3 separate regions of the Homo sapiens genome follow, and regions 2 and 3 are each linked to region 1. Evidence: promoter capture Hi-C in human tissues and cell types (Jung and others, 2019). All regions are on one chromosome and are shown on one strand. Each heading gives the region's core, a stretch centred on a gene start or on the middle of the fragment in contact. The rest is flanking DNA. Distances are from core to core; before and after follow the strand shown. Region 1 holds the start of PERP (p53 apoptosis effector related to PMP22). Region 2 overlaps WAKMAR2 (wound and keratinocyte migration associated lncRNA 2). Region 3 overlaps ARFGEF3 (ARFGEF family member 3).

Region 1 (3,209 bases), core at 384-2,883:
TGGTTTCATTGAATAACGAAAATAAATTATATATATCAAGTCCAAAATTATCCAGAGATATTAAGATGCCTGCAAAACTCTCATTTTGTCTGAAGCCACTTTGCTTCTGGTCAGTATTTGACTTATAAGAATTTTTTTTTCTCACAAATATATTATACATAGCTAATTAAACAAATATCTTCATTACTTTTGAAAACCCTGAGAACATAAATATCACCATTTTCTTCACACAGCTTCCACGATACAAAATTAACTTTTGGCAGAACACCCTCTTGTGTTCTTTGAAAGTGAAAATATTTTCCTGTAATAAAAATATATGACGTGGTTTATGTAAAACTTGAATTATGTAAAATGAAGGCTAGGGAAATTATTTCATGTATTTTCAGATACTTTCTCCATGCTTTTATTCGTCCTCAAGAATTGCCAGAAAATGGCATAAGTCAAAAGAGTATTCTGTTTCTATTGAGAATATCAAATTGGAATACAATTTAAAATATTTTTAAGTAGTTCCCACTTTTATATTAAATTAACAGAAAAAATAGGGGATTCAGAAGAAATCTTTGGAGGTACAGGGTTAAGACATGACCCCCATACGATGTTTCAGTGATTTTCCCAAGGCCACCGAGGTGCCTGACACTGAGAACTCCTTTGTCCTCAGCGGCACACCTGGCTGCCACCCCACCCTTCCTGTCACATCTTAGGAGTCAGAACTGCGACGGGAGCTAGCCCAGGACACCGAAGGGGGGATCCTAAATGCAGGTTGCATGCTGACGTATGATTTTTATTTGGAAAAACCTCAAAATAGTAAATGAAGAGTAGAGAGAGTGCAGTTTAAATAGGTAGAGATTCGTGATAGGAAGTGGACTGCAGCAGAGGCGACATGAAATTATCTGGGGAAGCCAGATGAAGCCTTTCCGAAAGGAAGCGAGCATTTGTTAAATTACATGTTCATTCATCAAATTCACTGAGCTCCCCTTGAGATCCAAACACGGTGCCGGACACTAAGGATACACAGATAAATTCAGCATCGCCTCCGCTTTCCAAAATCTGGCAACCCAGCAGGAAAGAACAGCATGCAAAGAGATAAGAGTACCCGGGGAGCCACGGTCCAAGGTGCAAAGGCGGAGCCTAGGAGGAAGGGATCACCTGTGTCAGCAGGGGTCAGGGACGGGCTTCTGGGTTTGGGTGCACGCGTCCAAAGGAGTGCAGCCTTTATCCACAGGTGCAATTAGAACACCCATCTCACACTGCTGAAAACTCAGATATGGCACTGCTGACCACCGCCCCACGATGCGACATCAGGGGTCAGATATTAGGCTGGCGCTGTGCAGATAAACAAGTGTATATGTTGGTGCGCCAGGAAGACAAAACACGCGCCTGGAGAGGCCAGGAGAGCGGGACTGGAGGGTTGTGGGACGCGCGGGACCCTCGGGCCGCCTTCCGCCGCCGCCCGGTGTCACCAGAACCCAGCCTGTTTACCAGCGGCCCCGCCCGCCCCGGCCCGGCAGGGCAGGTCGGGGCGGGCGCGCTCTGAGTCACCGGAATCTAGGTGGGGCCGCCCGGAGCGGCGTCCTCGGGAGCCGCCTCCCCGCGGCCTCTTCGCTTTTGTGGCGGCGCCCGCGCTCGCAGGCCACTCTCTGCTGTCGCCCGTCCCGCGCGCTCCTCCGACCCGCTCCGCTCCGCTCCGCTCGGCCCCGCGCCGCCCGTCAACATGATCCGCTGCGGCCTGGCCTGCGAGCGCTGCCGCTGGATCCTGCCCCTGCTCCTACTCAGCGCCATCGCCTTCGACATCATCGCGCTGGCCGGCCGCGGCTGGTTGCAGTCTAGCGACCACGGCCAGACGTCCTCGCTGTGGTGGAAATGCTCCCAAGAGGGCGGCGGCAGCGGGTCCTACGAGGAGGGCTGTCAGAGCCTCATGGAGTACGGTGAGTGCCCGCCGCCGCCGCCGTCGCCGCCTCCAGGAAGCCCTCGGGGCCGCGGCCTGCAAAAGCCGCCGCGCGTGATGGGCCCTCACAGGGTCGGGGGAGCCAGTGCTTTTCAGAATGCCTGTTTAGGACGAGCTCGGGCTCATGCATCCGACCTGAACCAAATGCAGCAGCAGTAGCTTTGGGTGGCCAACACCAAGCTCAGAAACAGAAAAAAAAAAAAGGCCGTAGTTCAAACTGTATAGTTTTTTTCCTGGGTTTTGTCGGTTACGTACGAAAGATTATTTCAAGCATTGCAAGTTTAGATGAGTAAATATAATGAACAAAGTTTCTTGGAGACCTGAAATTTCTTCCCATTTCTCTTCCTTCTCGTTTCTTCTTATGATTAAAATATAAATATTGAAATAACGTGCCTTCCCTAATATCAGTGGATTCGTTCAACTTGATATAGCTGAAAAAACTTTCTCATTTAAAAAAGCCCTTTCAGGCAGTTTTAGCAGTTAACGTTTTCAATAGATATTTCAGTCTACTTTACCGGTCAGGCTAGTTCTTGTTAGCTCTTGTTCTAGGGCGTGTCCTTTGGTTTAAGCATGGCATTGTTGTTTAGAAAACTTAATTATTTTAATCCGATTTGAAATCTAAAAAGCAAACACATTCCCTACACTCGCGACGTGAAGCAGAGTTGACAAATTTAATGTACCTAGCAGGTGAAGTACTGTATGCCATTTTCCCAGCATGGAGGAAGCTCCCTGCTTGCCTTGCTGAAAGTCAGGACTGGAGCATAGTTCTTGTCTGAGAAGGCATTTTCTTTCACAGTGGGAAGCCCCCTCTCCTTTCCTGGGGGTGGATGGGAATCACAGCTGGGGTCTACTGTGATTAGCAATGTGTGTGGGGGTGGAGATGGGGTCTGTGAGAGCCTAATAAAACCTTAAAGCCAAATGGGCTTTACCTACCGGGTTTAATAGTTTTAAACACAGACAGCAAGCTACCCTGCCTGTTTTCATTTCTTACTATTACCATTGACTTGATTTTTTTCTTTGAAGTGGCCCAGGGCTTCCAACCCAATCCTGTTTATTTGTGTTTCCGGGGGACTATATCAGCAACTTGGTGCCCTTTCTTTTGTGTAATCCTTTGGACGTCACTTCCCCACAAAAGGAAGCATGGTCCCCATTAGCCAGGTAATAAAATGTAAACACTGCAGAAAATTCCAGCTTTCTTTGCAGTTTGTGTGTTTTCTTCTCTGAAAACCCATACACTGTGCCAGCTCAGGTTTGTATCATCTCC
Region 2 (3,209 bases), core at 417-2,916, 250 kb after region 1:
TCCACTGGGAAGGAGGCAGTTGGTGTAATGACAAGTACAGTTCCTTCTGTTGCACTTTGCCTGAAAGCGTGCGATGCTGACATCTCAAACTTGTCAGAAAATCCACTATCCCTGTGAATTCTGTTTTATTTCCTGTCAACACTTGGCTGAAACACTTGGGAAAGTAATTTTATTTTACATCATAAATATAAATATTCAATTCTTAGTTTCATTTATGTTTCTGTGAAGGCTGCTATTAATGACCAAATAGGATGTTAGAAAGCCCAGAAATGGGTGTTATTAGGAACGAGCTAGAAAGCAGTGTTGGTTTTAGCAGTAAGCCCGGTGTTTCTGAGATAAATTAGTTCCTGTTACTTGGAATAGTGCAAGCCATTGTGAAAATTTGCCTTGACATTCCCCTTTCTCATTTGTCCCTCAATCCCTTCAGTCTAGTTTGGGGTCTCTATAATCCTGCTCCTTTGGCTGCCAGCCATCTCCATAAAAAAAGAATTTGAAAGGCTTCCATTCTTTCAGAGACCTGTTTCCCGGGACTGGCTGGTAAGATAAATCATGCTCATTTTTCAAACAGATTGTGATGTGTTACTGTGTTATATTTCTTGATAAAATGTTCTTACAGAACTTCCTAGAGCTTAATGGTGGAAATTCCAAGCACTTTAGCAGGCTGGAGAAAGAGCTGTGGTATTTCTATGATTCTGAGAGTCCATGTTTGTAAGACACACTATGGATTTAATAACAAGATTGGGAGGGGAACAACCTTATTGTAGGAAATGTACACACGTTTCTTCCTTTACTCACTTAGCCTATGTTTATTGATGTGATGACATTTCTCTTTCTTCTTCACTGTCACCATTCATGTTTGATTCGAAGGCTTCTTGGAGTTTTATGATTCCTCTGAGCTGATTTTGATCCTTGACAATTGTGTACTGCAGTGCTCAGATAGGCTGTTTGCAGTAATCTGCCTCTTCTGGCCTTTTTAGTAATTTAGAATTGACTATAACATTACATATTCCTTTAAACTTCTCTTGAAGGTCTGCTGGAAATAGAGATAGTCCTTTAAGATGCTCTTTTCATTTTTTTTTTTTATCATACTTTAAGTTCTAGGGTAAATGTGCACAACGTGCAGGTTTGTTACATATGTATACCTGTGCCATGTTGGTGTGCTGCAACCATTAAAAAGAAAAAAAAAAAGATGCTCTGTTTAATAACAGCTTTGGAAAGGAATTTGGCTCCCTATAAGCCTTTCATCATGAGAGTGGGCCTATTTTTCCATGATGCATTTAAACAGCTTTATCTCTATATGGGGACCAAACGGGCCATTGCTTTACCAGAAACAATGGACTTTAGTTCTGCGTTTTTCTCTGTTAGCTTTAGTCTAGCATCATAATGTATCTTTTGAAAGATATTTTGTTTAAGAGATAGAAATCCAAATTTAAGTTAAATGGAACTTCTTGTTCAGCTAGCCATGTAAATGAGTCAACAGGGTGTCTCCATGTTCCCTTATTCTGCTGAGCTCAGGCCAGCTTGCCCCAGGGCCCCTGCACTTACTGTTTTCTCTACAGGGACTGCCCTTGCAACTGCTCAGCACTCAGCTTTCTGCTTACATGTTATTTAATCAGAGAAACCTCCCTGACTTACCCCACTTCCTGATCTTTCTGTCTTGCTTTCTTTGTAACATTTATCACAATTGAAAATTCTTTATTTATCAGTTCAATTGTTTATCATCTACCTTTCCCTACTAGAATGAGACTCTTTGAGAGTCTATCATTGATGCTTGCCTATCATTGTACTCTGTACTCCCTGTGCCCAGAAATGTACGTGATACAAAACAGGCACTCAGTGAACAACAGTTTGTTAGATGAATGAAAGGATTGGGAGGAAGAATGAAAAGATACCTTTCCTTTAGACATTTCTAAGCTTGCAAATGCACAGGCAATGAGAACCACCTCTCTTCACTCCCTGGCATTTGAGGCTTTTTACGTAAAAATTTAAACTAATGATTATATTAGAAATTTTTAAATGTTTAAAAAAAGTATGTTGTAAAATTGAGGAAATATAGTATTTTGAGAGTCCAAACACGTTCATGCAGTTGATTGAGCCTAAGTGTTGGGTTAATCCTAGTAAGTGATTGATCTTTTTAGGTAGGTAAGGGAATAAACAGAAGATCAGAAAAGAAGAGGTACTACTATTACATTTTAAGTTTCCAAATATACTACTAAGTGTCTCTAGTAAAACTTAACTCATTGAAGAAGAAAATAGTCTGACTCTAAAAAAAGAGTGTGTGTTCCTGAGAAAGACTAAACCAGTTATTTTCTCCTTTCATGTTTGAATGAATAACCATCAGCAAGGGAGAGATGCACTGACCTTCTGCCAGGTATGTTTAGTATGGATGTTTCTATGCTGTTGACAAACAAAAAAAAAAAAAAAAAGAAAAAAGAAAAAAAAGCCAATCTCTGTAAAATATTTAAAGACATTTATTCTGAGCCAAATGTGAGGACCATGACCCATGACATAGCCTCAGGAGGTCCTGAGAACATGTATCCAAACACAGTGGTTGGGTTACAGCTTGATTTTACACAGTTTAGGGGGACAGAATTTATAGGCAGACATCAATCAGTGTATGTAACGTATATGTTCATTTGGTCCAGAAAGGTAGGACAACTTCAAGGAGGGTGTTGGGCTTACAGCTGATAGTTGAATTCAAAGGTGTTCTGATTGGCAGTTGGTTGAAACAGTTAAGTTTCTTTCTAAGGAGTTAAGACAGAAATGCTTAGGGTTAAGATAAGGAGGGTTGTGGAGGCCAAGGTTCTTGTTATGAAGATGAAGCCTTCTGGTAGCAGCCTTCAGAAAGAGTAATAGGTGGTAAATATCTCCTATCAGACCTTAAACGGTGCCAGACTCAGTTGAATATCTCCTGGATCAGGAAAAGACCTGGAAAGGAGAGAGAATTATCTACGGAATGGAGAGTTTCCTCACAACAGACAGCTTTGCCAGGTCATTTCAAAATGTATCAAATAAATATATTTTGAAGTAAAATACTTGGATTTCTTTCAGGGCCTCCTGTCACATTGCTATCTTATTGCTACAAAAAGTCTGTTTTGTCAGTCTTAAGATCTCTGTTTTAATGTTAATGCTGGTCAGTTGTGCCTGAATTCCAAAGAGAGGAGAGTATAATGAAGCATGTCCGACCCTCCCTTCCCATCATGGCCTGA
Region 3 (3,209 bases), core at 279-2,778, 200 kb before region 1:
CCATGACTATACAAGGGGCTCTGCCTTTTCCACTGATCCCAGGCCCCAAACAAATAATTCCACTTTAGAATTCACAGAAGAAAACACAGGCTGTTTTCAATGTCCTCTATGTGATGGTTTATTTTAGATGTCAACTTGGCTGGATTAGGGGAGACCCAGATCACTGATAGAGCATGATTTCTGGGTGTGTCTGTGAGGTTGGTTCTGGAAGAGGCTGGCATTTGAATCAGACTGAGTAAGGGAGCTCCACCCTCACCCAGTGTAGGCAGACACCATCTAATCAGCCAAGGCCCAGGAGAACAAAAGGCAGAGAAAAGGAGAATTCTCTGTGTCTCTGTCTCTGGAGCTGGGATATCCTTCTCTTGTCTTAGAACTACAGGTTCTCGAGCCTCTGGCTTTGGATTAAGAGTTACACCATCAGTGCCCCTCATTCTGAGGCCTTTGAACTTGAACTGAGCCATGTTATCGGCTTCCTTGGTTTTCCAGCTTGCAGATGGTCTATCGTGGGACTTCTCAGCCTCCATAATTGTAGGAATGTTCTAAGATTTCCAACCTTAGATTAGTCAATATTATATTAAATAATTGCCCTTATGCAGAAACCTATTCTCAGTGTCATATGATTAGCAGCTTGAGTTTGATTTCCCAACTTTTTAGCAAAAGTTAAGAATTCCTCCTACCCCAGGCTTAATTAATTATAAAATATATTTTCTAAGTATAGAAGTCCCCCTTCTTGAAAGCCTCGTGTATTTCAGAAACTACCCAGATGATTTTATACTTAATTTAGAAACACCTTAACAAAATATATTCTCACTATACAACATGACCTGCAATAGGAGATTTTTATATAGCACAGGTTTATGTAGGGTGAAATGAAAGGGAAGGACACTTAGTTAAACCAAAAGGTTTAGAAGAAACTTAAAATTTTGAGAGTTTCCATAGAGTGTGATTAGACCTGGAGCCCGAGAACCTTTTACAAAGGGAAAATACAAGGTTGATATTATTCTTTGACAATAAAGTTAGTATAAAATAATAAATAAATAGATTAAAAATATGCTATAAGATATTCCATGAATACAATGAAAAGTATCAACCTTACACAAAATTCAAGCTTCTTTCACAGTAAGTTTTTGCTTTTGAGTACACAACACCACCATCTGCTTGTACCCCAGGATGCGTGCTTGTTCCAGACAGTCAGTAGGCCCTGTCTCCAGCCACAGAGCCACCCTGGAAAGGGTCCTCAGCAGTTACAAGGCATGAGAGAAGGGTTCTGCTTACCCAGTCCTTTGACAAACTTCATAAGGCACATGATGTAGCTAGTGGCTGCATTAGCAAAGACCTGGATGTTGTCAGTATTGAGAAAAGCTTCAAATACATCAAACACTGGAGCTTGGCCTTTTCCTAAGGGAGGAAGATTATAGAATTGTAAGAAAGTAAGTTTCTGCCCTCGGGTTTGCCAGGGTTGCCCATATTCCCAGCACGTTCCACTGAGACAGATCTTGAGAAAGATCTACTGGGGAGATGCCTGGGTTTTTTATTGGGCCATTGGCTTGGCTCCAGCATGGTGCTCAGCTCTGCCGGCAGGGGAGCAGCTCGGCAGAGAGATGAGGGCTGAGCTGGCCGAGTGCAGAGCTGAGGCAATGTGCTGGTCTATAGAGCAGGGAACCATGTGGCCTCTGGAATGCTCCTGCACAGGTATTTGTAGATTATCTACAGGGCACAGCAGGGCAGGTTTAGATAGACCTTTGGTGGCATATATGAGTTTCTTTATATCTATGCAGAAAAAGAGCACAGAAGGCCTGAGACCACTTTTCTTTTAGAAAGCTTGCTTGCAAAATTGGCCTTTGGCGGGTGTCTGGGAACTCAGCTCTCAGAGTACTCCCAGGCCACAGTTAACTGATAAGAGTAGTTCACCGTGCCTAGACTGTTCATACAAACCATACGGTTTATGGTGAACACCTGCTTTCCTGTTGGGAGTCTGGGATTTTGGTAATGTGCTAGGCAAAGGGTATGTAAGTGGCCAGTCCCCAGCTAGATCTCTAATGGGCTTCAACAGGCAGAAACATTGCAAACATGTTGCTGTGTTTTCACTGCTGGGGGAAGAATGTCTTCTGTGTGATCCCTCCTGGGAGGGCGAGAGCACAGGGAAGCTGGTGCATAGATTCTTCCAGACTCTGTCTGTGTCATAACCTGTTGTGTCCTTCCTACGTTGCTAAAACTTAGTCACGAGCTGTGTAATAAATCTCAACATAACTATATGCTGGGTCCCATGAGTCTTTCTGGTGGGTTTCTGAGTTTAGGGGTGGTCTTGGGAACCTCTGAGACAACACCCCTGGGCCCTGGGCATGCTTTATGGGTACCCATCCATTTCCAGCAGACCGAATCTCCCTAATTCTGGTTACTCTGTGTTATGATACTTTTCTGCTTCTTACTAGCAAATGGATAACATTTTTCTTTTTGGCTTTAGACGTGAACTCAACACAGCAATGTGTAAGTGAAACAACAGAAGTCTCTCAGCCTTATTGTCCAATTGTCAGCAAGAACAGGGCCTGACAATGCTCAGGGCTCTCAGCCTGCTGGCAGAACTCAGGACTCATGTTCCTGCTACACCACATTCTTTCCTGCTGATAAAACATGGCTGACAATCTGTCTTCCCTATTGTTCAATTTTTTTTTTTTAATAGCATGAAACTTGGCACAGAGAATTAATGCTGAATAGCAAGAATCATCCAAACATTCTTACCCATGGAGTAGTCACCAACCAGGTACTCCTTCATCTCTGACTTGTTCCCGCCATGCACTGTTTCCAGGGCACTGAACAAGGGTCTCCATCCCGACTGGATCTGCGTGGAACACACTTCAACCAGCTCACCAATGGATGTGACAACCTGGTAGAGGCAAAGCAAGTGGCACTTAAAGCCCTCTCCTTAAAAGGAGCAGAATTTCTGGGAAGGGTGATGTATTTCTCTGTCCCCTATTTTGGAGTTAATTTTAGTGAAAAGGAAAAACCAGAATAGACAAACTCACTCAAAAATCTTCTGAATAATCAGCCGTATTGTATTAATTTGCATTTCACTAATGACTAATGCTGCAAAGCAACTTTTCACATCTTATTAGCCAAATATTTTGTTGTTTTTAAAAATTGGGTTCATGTCTTCTTGTTATTTTCTTTTTTTTTTTTTTTTTTAGAGTTCCTTATATATTCCCAAGATA

The links. The method cuts DNA at HindIII sites, captures the fragments that hold promoters and counts their contacts. A contact is called where the count stands out against the background at its distance.
Region 2: a contact is called between a fragment that was not itself captured here and the fragment with the promoter of PERP in region 1, in 1 of the 25 tissues and cell types used here (bladder).
Region 3: a fragment that was not itself captured here is called in contact with the fragment with the promoter of PERP in region 1 in 1 of the 25 tissues and cell types used here (bladder).

What each region holds. Positions count from the first base shown.
Region 1 is chr6:138,105,843-138,109,051 of GRCh38, reverse strand. PERP (p53 apoptosis effector related to PMP22) reads left to right here and starts at 1,633. Exons shown (of 3, transcript NM_022121.5): 1 at 1,633-1,925. The coding sequence starts at 1,712. RefSeq lists a silencer at 1,455-1,504. The HindIII fragment of the contact is 18,311 bases long and covers 1-3,209 here.
Region 2 is chr6:137,860,144-137,863,352 of GRCh38, reverse strand. All of the region lies in intron 3 of WAKMAR2 (wound and keratinocyte migration associated lncRNA 2), which reads left to right. Among named protein-coding and RNA genes, the nearest start is that of TNFAIP3, 5.5 kb to the left of the region's middle. The HindIII fragment of the contact is 5,917 bases long and covers 1-3,209 here.
Region 3 is chr6:138,306,928-138,310,136 of GRCh38, reverse strand. It overlaps ARFGEF3 (ARFGEF family member 3), which reads right to left. Exons shown (of 34, transcript NM_020340.5): 23 at 2,740-2,884; 24 at 1,276-1,398. Among named protein-coding and RNA genes, the nearest start is that of SMIM28, 69 kb to the left of the region's middle. The HindIII fragment of the contact is 4,091 bases long and covers 1-3,209 here.